Regions from separate parts of the Homo sapiens genome. Here region 2 is linked to region 1. The links are contacts of gene promoters, found by promoter capture Hi-C in human tissues and cell types (Jung and others, 2019). All regions are on one chromosome and are shown on one strand. The core of a region is centred on a gene start or on the middle of the fragment in contact, and the rest is flanking DNA. Distances in the headings are between cores, read along the strand shown. Region 1 holds the start of LCLAT1 (lysocardiolipin acyltransferase 1). Region 2 has its middle 13 kb from the start of LINC01936.

The links. Contacts are between HindIII fragments. The study calls those that stand out against the background at their distance.
Region 2: a fragment that was not itself captured here is called in contact with the fragment with the promoter of LCLAT1 in region 1 in 2 of the 25 tissues and cell types used here (aorta and pancreas).

The regions. Positions count from the first base shown.
Region 1 is chr2:30,445,581-30,449,312 of GRCh38, reverse strand. LCLAT1 (lysocardiolipin acyltransferase 1) reads right to left here and starts at 2,067. Exons shown (of 6, transcript NM_001002257.3): 1 at 1,930-2,067. RefSeq lists enhancers at 903-1,639, 1,837-1,956, 2,167-2,226, 2,267-2,336, 1,640-2,377. The HindIII fragment of the contact is 9,254 bases long and covers 1-3,732 here.
Region 2 is chr2:30,357,818-30,361,689 of GRCh38, reverse strand. No RefSeq gene overlaps it. Among named protein-coding and RNA genes, the nearest start is that of LINC01936, 13 kb to the right of the region's middle. The HindIII fragment of the contact is 3,397 bases long and covers 1-3,198 here.

The DNA of each region.
Region 1 (3,732 bases), core at 818-3,317:
CATTCTAGGACATTGCTAGAGCCTTTGAAAAAGAAAAATATATATATTAAAAATGAAAAATTTGTACATGAATTAATGTTTCCCCTTAATACATAACACATCTGTATGTCATAGGAAGATAGTAGGCATGGTGGTAGTAAGACAGTAAGAACACAGGCTGGAAACACAATGCTAATTGTGTGATATGGACAAATTACTTAAACTTCAATGTGCTTCAGTTTCCTCATCTGCAAAATAAAGATAATAAATGTATCCGCCTCACAGTGATGCTAGATGACTGAGTTGGCACATATAAGTCCCCGGATTCAGTGCCTGGCAGAGTACATGAATGCAGAGGAATAAATTTCAAATATTTTCACTGTTTTTTTAACTTTTTAAAGCCCTTTCACACATACTGTCTTTTCTTTTTCCTCCCAACAGTGCAATGAGATTGTTTGAATAAGAAATACTCACTTTAGAGATAAGACACCAATAGTGAAGTTGTATGATTACCCTAAGATATTTTTAAGTGGCAGAGTTTGGACTAGAATCCACCCATAACCTCAACCCCAGGACAAACTGACCAAATCTCCATGGATCCAGTTTGGAAGAATCTTTTGGGTTTTCCCCATTGCTTCCTCCTGGTTGTCAGCAACAGCCAGCCTAAAGACCTGGTGGGGGCAGATGCAGACGACCATGTGTTCAAATTAAAAAGTAGGAGAAGCCTAGCTTTCACAGAAACTGACACATAGTTGGCACTCCAGAGATTGCAGCTATTGATGACTGAAACACAAGCGCTATTACGTTTTTCTCAGTTACAGAACAAGGTACTACTCCATAAAATCAAGCCTACTACCAAAAACAAAAGTCAGTTAACATTATGCTTATCTGTCATATCAAGCATATCAAAGTACAATGTGCAACAGAAACCTAAACGAAAAAGTGATGATGTATTTTTACTTACTCTCAAAAAATATGTTTTACAAAAAGGGCTTTCATCAAGTCAGTTTTTTGAAAACTAACCCACGTAGTTATACTTCATGAGATGACGTTTCTTTGAACAAATAAGTTAATGATATGAATAAATATTTCATCTTGGTAATGCCTTCAACACATATCTTCAATACTTTTCTTGGACTTAAAGTGACTTCAATCCCTAATCTCATCTACTGCCATGTACACAAGAAACACAGTTAATGAACTTTAAAGGCAGATGCAGTATTTCCAGGGAAGCCACCTGAACCAGGGAAGTACAAGAAAGCAAAACATCTCCACAACCACATCTAAGTGCCTTATCTTTCAACTTCTTTTCTTCAAATGGGCAATTAGAAGCTACGATACACCTTAAAGATCAGGTTTGGCATCCGCCCTGGCTAGGGCCTACCTTTCTTTTCGCGGCACTGCCACTCTGGCACCTACAGGCAGGCCTTTGGCGCCTGCAGGACTCGCAGGGAAGACAACCCCAGCCCCTGCTCTCCACGGCTCTCGTCGAAGCCCCGCACGTGGTGACCACTTGAGACGTTTTAGTGCATGGGATTTAACAGGGTCAGACCTCAGGTTGCGTTCCGGGACAGTGCAGCTCCCAGACCCGCTGAGGTCGCAGGAGGAAGGTTTTGACGCTCCTAGCGTAAACACCGACGGGACCCTCTTCGCCCCGCGGCTACCTCGCCCTCGCCGCTCGCGCGGCCCCTCAGCACCTGACGCCTCAGCCAGCCTCCAGGAGTCGCTTCCCCGCGCCTCCTTCCACCTGAGCCAGCGACGCTACCGCCACCTGCACCGGGACCCCAAATGCCAGGCCAGTGGCCGTTACCCGAGGTCGCGGCCCGGGGAAGGTCCATGGCTCAGGAGGAAAAGCCCGGGCTGCAGCTCCCCTTCCTGCACCTCTGAGATCCCCCGGCCGCCGCCATTTTCCTCGCGCCGTAACCCCACCTGATAGTTCCAGCCTCCCACCTGTGACAAGCAGGGCACGCCGCGCGACGCCGAGTGGGGTGCGTGGGCAAGCTGGGGCTCCGTAGGGGTCACAACCTCCGTGCGGAACCCGCCGTTAATTCATCCCGTAACGCGGAGGCGTCCGGCCGTCGCCCTAGTAATGCGTCCCGGAAGGCTACGTCCTGATTGGCTGCAGGCGCCGTGACGCAACGGCGTCCCCGGCTGCGTGGGAAACCCGGGTCCCCGGCGCCCCGCGCTTGCTCCACAGCCCGGGATACCCCGGGTACCTTTCTTTGAGAGCTCCTTTAAAGAGGCCTCGCTTATTTCCTCGTCTGGCCTCCTGGAGAGGAGGGACCCACGGAACGGTGGGGTGTAGGGGTGAGAAAACAACGAAATAGGAAATTAGCGGAGGTCATTTGTCCGAGGGAACCTAATGGTTCATTCAACCCCTAGAGCTGCAAAATGGAAAACAGAAATCTGGGAGTTTAATTTACAAGCCTAAATTTGGTGCGCGAAGTCACAGGACAAATCAGTAGTAGAAGCAGTTATAGAACCCAGGTTCCCTGATCAGGAGCACAAAGTTTTTCTAGCACACTCAGTGTTTCCCCAGTCCTAGAAAATGTTTCCTCCCAGTTCCCATAGCAATTTCATCACACTGCTCTTAAAAGGTCTCGATCACCTATCATGGTGTGTCTGTCCTGTCCCCTAACCTACTAGATTGCATGCCCCTGAATGGTGGGGACTGTGGTTAAACCCCTTTTCATTTCCCTTAAGCAATTCCCTCCTCAACTTGGCCTTCAACAAATACAATAAGAATCTTAAAAATAATAAACATAGCTACACATCACACACAGCCACTCATCAGTAGTTCATGTATGTCTATACGTTTTATCCGTTTATTCAACAAAGCACAGAGTGAATATTTTTAAAATTACAAGGTTCCTGACCTCACAAAATTTATGGTGTAATAATAATGACCATCTACATGTTGGCTGCATAGCTTCAATATAGCTAAATTATATCCCCAAATTGCCTGTAAATCAAAGATTCTTGTGCTCTTTTCCTAAATTAGCTTCATAATTTCTCTAAGTTTGTTCCAAAACATTTTAATATTTAAGATGTGCTAAAATTGCATCAGAAAGTGAAGAATGACTACAGAGAGAAACACCAGAACAAAAGTCAATTCTGCCAATTATGCCTATGACTTTAGGCCTCCTTTTTACCTTTAAAATAAGATTACTGGAATAAAAGATCTCCCAATTCTTTTTTGTTGTTGTTAAGAGTTGGCCTGGCTATGCTCCAGAACCTTCAAGGGCTCTACTGTGGTTCTTTGGGGGCTTGCCGGAGGTTCCTCATAGCCTTTGCAGCTCCATTGCAGAGAGCTCTAGCATTGTGAGGTGTGTCCGGTGATACAGCCCAAGAGGCAAGGTTGCCCTTACCGCCCTAACCACAGAGGACAGTGCTGGGCTCTTTCTTTTTTCTTTTCTTTGCTTTTTTTTTTTTTTTTTTTTTTTTTGAGACAGGGTCTCGCTCTGTCACCTAGGCTGGAGTGCAGTGGCATGATTGTGGCCCACTACAACCCCTGCCTCCTGGACTCAAGCAATCCTCCCACCTCAGCCTCCAGACTAACTGGAACTACAGGCATCTGCCACCATGCCCAGCTAATTTTGTGTTTTTTGTAGAGACAGGATTTCAACATGTTGCCAGGCTGGTCTCGAACTCCTGAGCTCAAGCTATCCACCCACCTTGGCCTCTCAAAGTGCTGGGATTAGAGGCTTGAGCCACCGCGCCTGGCCCTGAGCCCGTTCTTGATCTGAGCTACTG
Region 2 (3,872 bases), core at 251-2,750, 87 kb after region 1:
AATAAGCTTTGAGCTCCCCCAAAGCAGGGTGTAGGTCTGTATCAGAAGTGGTTGTGGGGTGAATGAATAAATAACTCAATGATTCAGTGTTGCTACTCTCAGGAAGCCACCATGCTTGGTCCTGGGTTGAGAGAGCCATGGGGAGAAGACCCTGTAAATGTTACTCCCTGACTCCCCCTGGTTTCAGCCCAGGCATCACTGTGTGACTCAGGCACTGGCAGGTCTTCCAGGACCTTCCTGGGCTGAGTTCAGCTTTTTATTCACTCTGGGCTGTATCTGGGGGTACAGGAAAGCTAAGGCCCTTGTACCCCTGCCTCCTGGCTTGCCCTAGGATGATTCCATATCCTCCTCTTTTCTGCTGCATTCTCCCTGGCGCAATTCTCTAACTTGCTACTAGGATAATATAGAGAGACCAGACAAGCAAGTAGACCTGGGTCTTAGTCCTTCTCTCAACCTGGGTGAGGCCTAACAGCCACAGCAAAGATGTGCCTAAGCTTGGAACCCATGGCTATCCTCAACTATCAGCTAGTCTAATTTGAACCCAGGTAACAAAATGTGAGTGTATGTGATTGTGCATATGTGTGAGTGTATGCCTGTGTGCATCTACACGGGTGATTTCTCAGGCTCGGGGTATCTAGAGACACCTGGTTGTACTTGGACAGACTTGAAGTGCCCTTCATTTTACACATAGGGAAACAGTTTATTTCAGTTCATAGAAGTTGACATCTCCACCTGATACATGGGACATCAAAAATATATGTGTGGCAAACCCCATGGTTGCCGAGGAAGGGGGAGGGTCCCTGCTCATCTGCTCTCCTCCCCTCCACCCATGAGCCCCTCTTCCACCATCCTGTGTTCTAGGCCCCTTCCTCTCCTCGTAGCCTTTATGAGGAACAAACAAACAAAAAAACTCCAGATGGGCCGGGCGCGGTGGCTCATGCCTGTAATCGCAGCACTTTGGGAGGCTGAGGAGGGTGGATCAGCTGAGGTCAGGAGCTCGAGGCCATCCTGGCCAACATGGCGAAACCCTGTCTCTATTAAAAACAGAAAAATTAGCCAGGCATGGTGGCGGGCACCTGTAATCCCAGCTACTCAGGAAGCTGAGGCAGGAGAATCACTTGAACCCGGGAAGTACAGGTTGCAGTGAGCTGAAATTGCACCACTGCACTCCAGCCTGGGGGACAGAGCGAGACTCTGTCTCAAACAACAACAACAACAACAAACCCAGATTATATCATTGAGGATGCAAAGATGCTTTCATTATCTGGAGTCCCCATCTGTCCTTTCCTCCCCTGGCCAGCTCATGGCCCCGCCTTTCCCCGCAGGCCCACGCCTTACTGAACAACTCTGTGCACTTTGTATTTTTCCCCACAAAGCCTTGCAACAACCTTGTGAGGAGGGTATTATTACCCCCGCTTTACAGGTGAGAAGACTGCGGCTCAGAGAAGCCGAATGACTTGTCCACAGCTCTCAGCTGGCCCATAGCAGGAATGGGGTTGGACCTCAGCCTTCCTGCCTCCAAGCGTGTGCTCTGAACTGGCAGGCTGGAGGCTGTTCTGGGGAGGACGCACTGTGTCCCATGACTCTCCAGTCTCCTCGGAGCTGCTGAGCTTCCTGGCAGGAAGCCCATGGCTGCTTCTCTCCCTCTGCCCTCTGTCCACACTCCACAAGCACTCAGCTTCAGCTGATAACCACGGCAGGCGCTTGTGAGAGGGCTCTGACACCACAGGAGCCCTCTGAGGGGCCAGTCTATGGGGGGTGGTGCAGAATCCAGAGCCCCCATCCTCCTGCACCACGGGCACCAGCTTCCATACAAGTGGCCCTGGAGTCCTGACTCCCAGCTGTCAGCACCAGCAATCCTTCTCAGGAGCTAAGCCTTGGCACTTCCCAGGTCTGTAACAGGCCAGATTTCTCTTCCAGAGAAACTTCATCTGTGTCTGAGCCCAGGGCCTTGTTGCCTGGCTAGTGTCTTCATAGCTCAGATTCCTGTAACTATGAAGGGGTTGGTCCTTCCAGCTGCGTTCCATGAGAGAGGTGATGCCTTTTCCATTACATGCCAGGCCCTTGAGTCCTTTTGGCCATTAAAGGACTAGAAGAAGTCCAAAAACTTCTGGTAGTCTCTGAACCAACCCAGGTACTTCAGGTGTCTCCTGAAATGAAGCAGCTTTCCGTCCCAGGCAAAGGTCTGGGTGGGGTCAAAACCTGGGGACAAGGGTCTGGAGCTGGATGGAAAGAAAATAAGGGAATGTCAACAGCAAATGTAGCAGGACCTGGGGAACTGCCCCCAAAGAATCCAGGGGTGTCTGCAACCTACACATATAGGGAGTAACATTTTAAGCAGAGTTACTCTCTAAATTCAGCAAACAAGGAAAGATCACGTATGATCAGACTCACCCTTGACTCTTCCTTCAGAAGGTACCATGTTGAAGACTCTGACAAATTGGCGTTTCCATCAGCTTGGGAACAGATGCTGTGATTTTGGGTGCACATGCAATGGAGTGATTGTCTTACATTTAGGGACCATGTTGTGTGGAAGTGTGTATCACTAAGCACTAGACTCATATTCACACATATTGGGGCCAGGGCTGACTCAGGCAGATGGCTGGCTTCTGGCTCCTGGGGCATATGTTCACTAAACAGAACAGCAGGCTCAGTGGCTCGAATGACTGCACCTAAGCTGGGATCTGTGATCACGTGATATGACTCCACCGTGTTGACGCTCAGCATCTCCATGCCTATGTGCGTCAGGCTGGGCAAAGTAGCGGTGTTGGGACAAACAATATGAAAGAGCTGAGAGGCTGCCTCATGGACTTGTACCTGTGCACATAGGCCACTTTTGGTTTATTTTCAGAAAGTTTCTCTTTTTGAAGTGTTCCTTGTTACTGTCTCCACAACATCACATATGAGGCAGCCAGGGTTGTGACCACTTTCTGGTACAAAACAATGAGGTTTCTCTAGCACAATCATGTTTTAGAGCCTCCACCCTCTCCTGCACTGGAAGTTATCATCGATTAAGGGAGTAATTAATTAAGGGAGTAATTCATCCTACGAACTGGAGGCAGATGTCTTCTCTGTACTGGGGAAAGGTGGAGAAACATGTGAGCCTCTGATGTGACATGCCTGCCAGAGCACCTGGGCGTGGGGGGTGGGGAGGTGGAGAGAAAGGCAGGAGGTGCTTTAGGTGCCCAGGCAATAGCAGGGACAGAGGAGCTGATCAGGTCAAAAACCCTTCCAGTTGGGAAAGTGAAGGGTAGCCCCAGTGCTAAGGAAGCTGCTCTGAAAACAGAAAAGATAAGGAAGAGGGCACTGAATCGTGCCGAGGTTGCAATGATTTGAAAATCTTTCTCCAAATGACAGATTTTCCTTGAAAGTCCATTGAAAAGCATAGGCAACTGGCATTCTGCAAATATTTATACCAGCATTTAAAAATGCATTACTTTTAGGGCCAGGCGCGGTGGCTCATGCCTGTAATCCCAGCACTTTGGGAGGCTGAGGCAGGCGGATCATGAGGTCAGGAGATCGAGACCATCCTGGCTAACATGGTGAAACCCCGTCTCTACTAAAAATACAAAAAATTAGCCGGGCGTGGTGGCAGGTGCCTGTAGTCCCAGCTACTCGGGAGGCTGAGGCAGGAGAATGGTGTGAACCCGGGAGGTAGAGGTTGCAGTGAGCCAAGATTGTGCCACTGCACTCCAGCCTGGGCAACAGAGTGAGACTCCATCTCAAAAAAAAAAAAAAAAAAAGCATTGCTTTTTATGACAAAAGCAGTACAATGGTTCCTATGAAAAAGCTAAATATCAAAGTGATAGATAACGCAGAAAGTGAAAGCCCCTGTAATTCCACCGTACTGAAAAGAAACACGGGTAATAGTT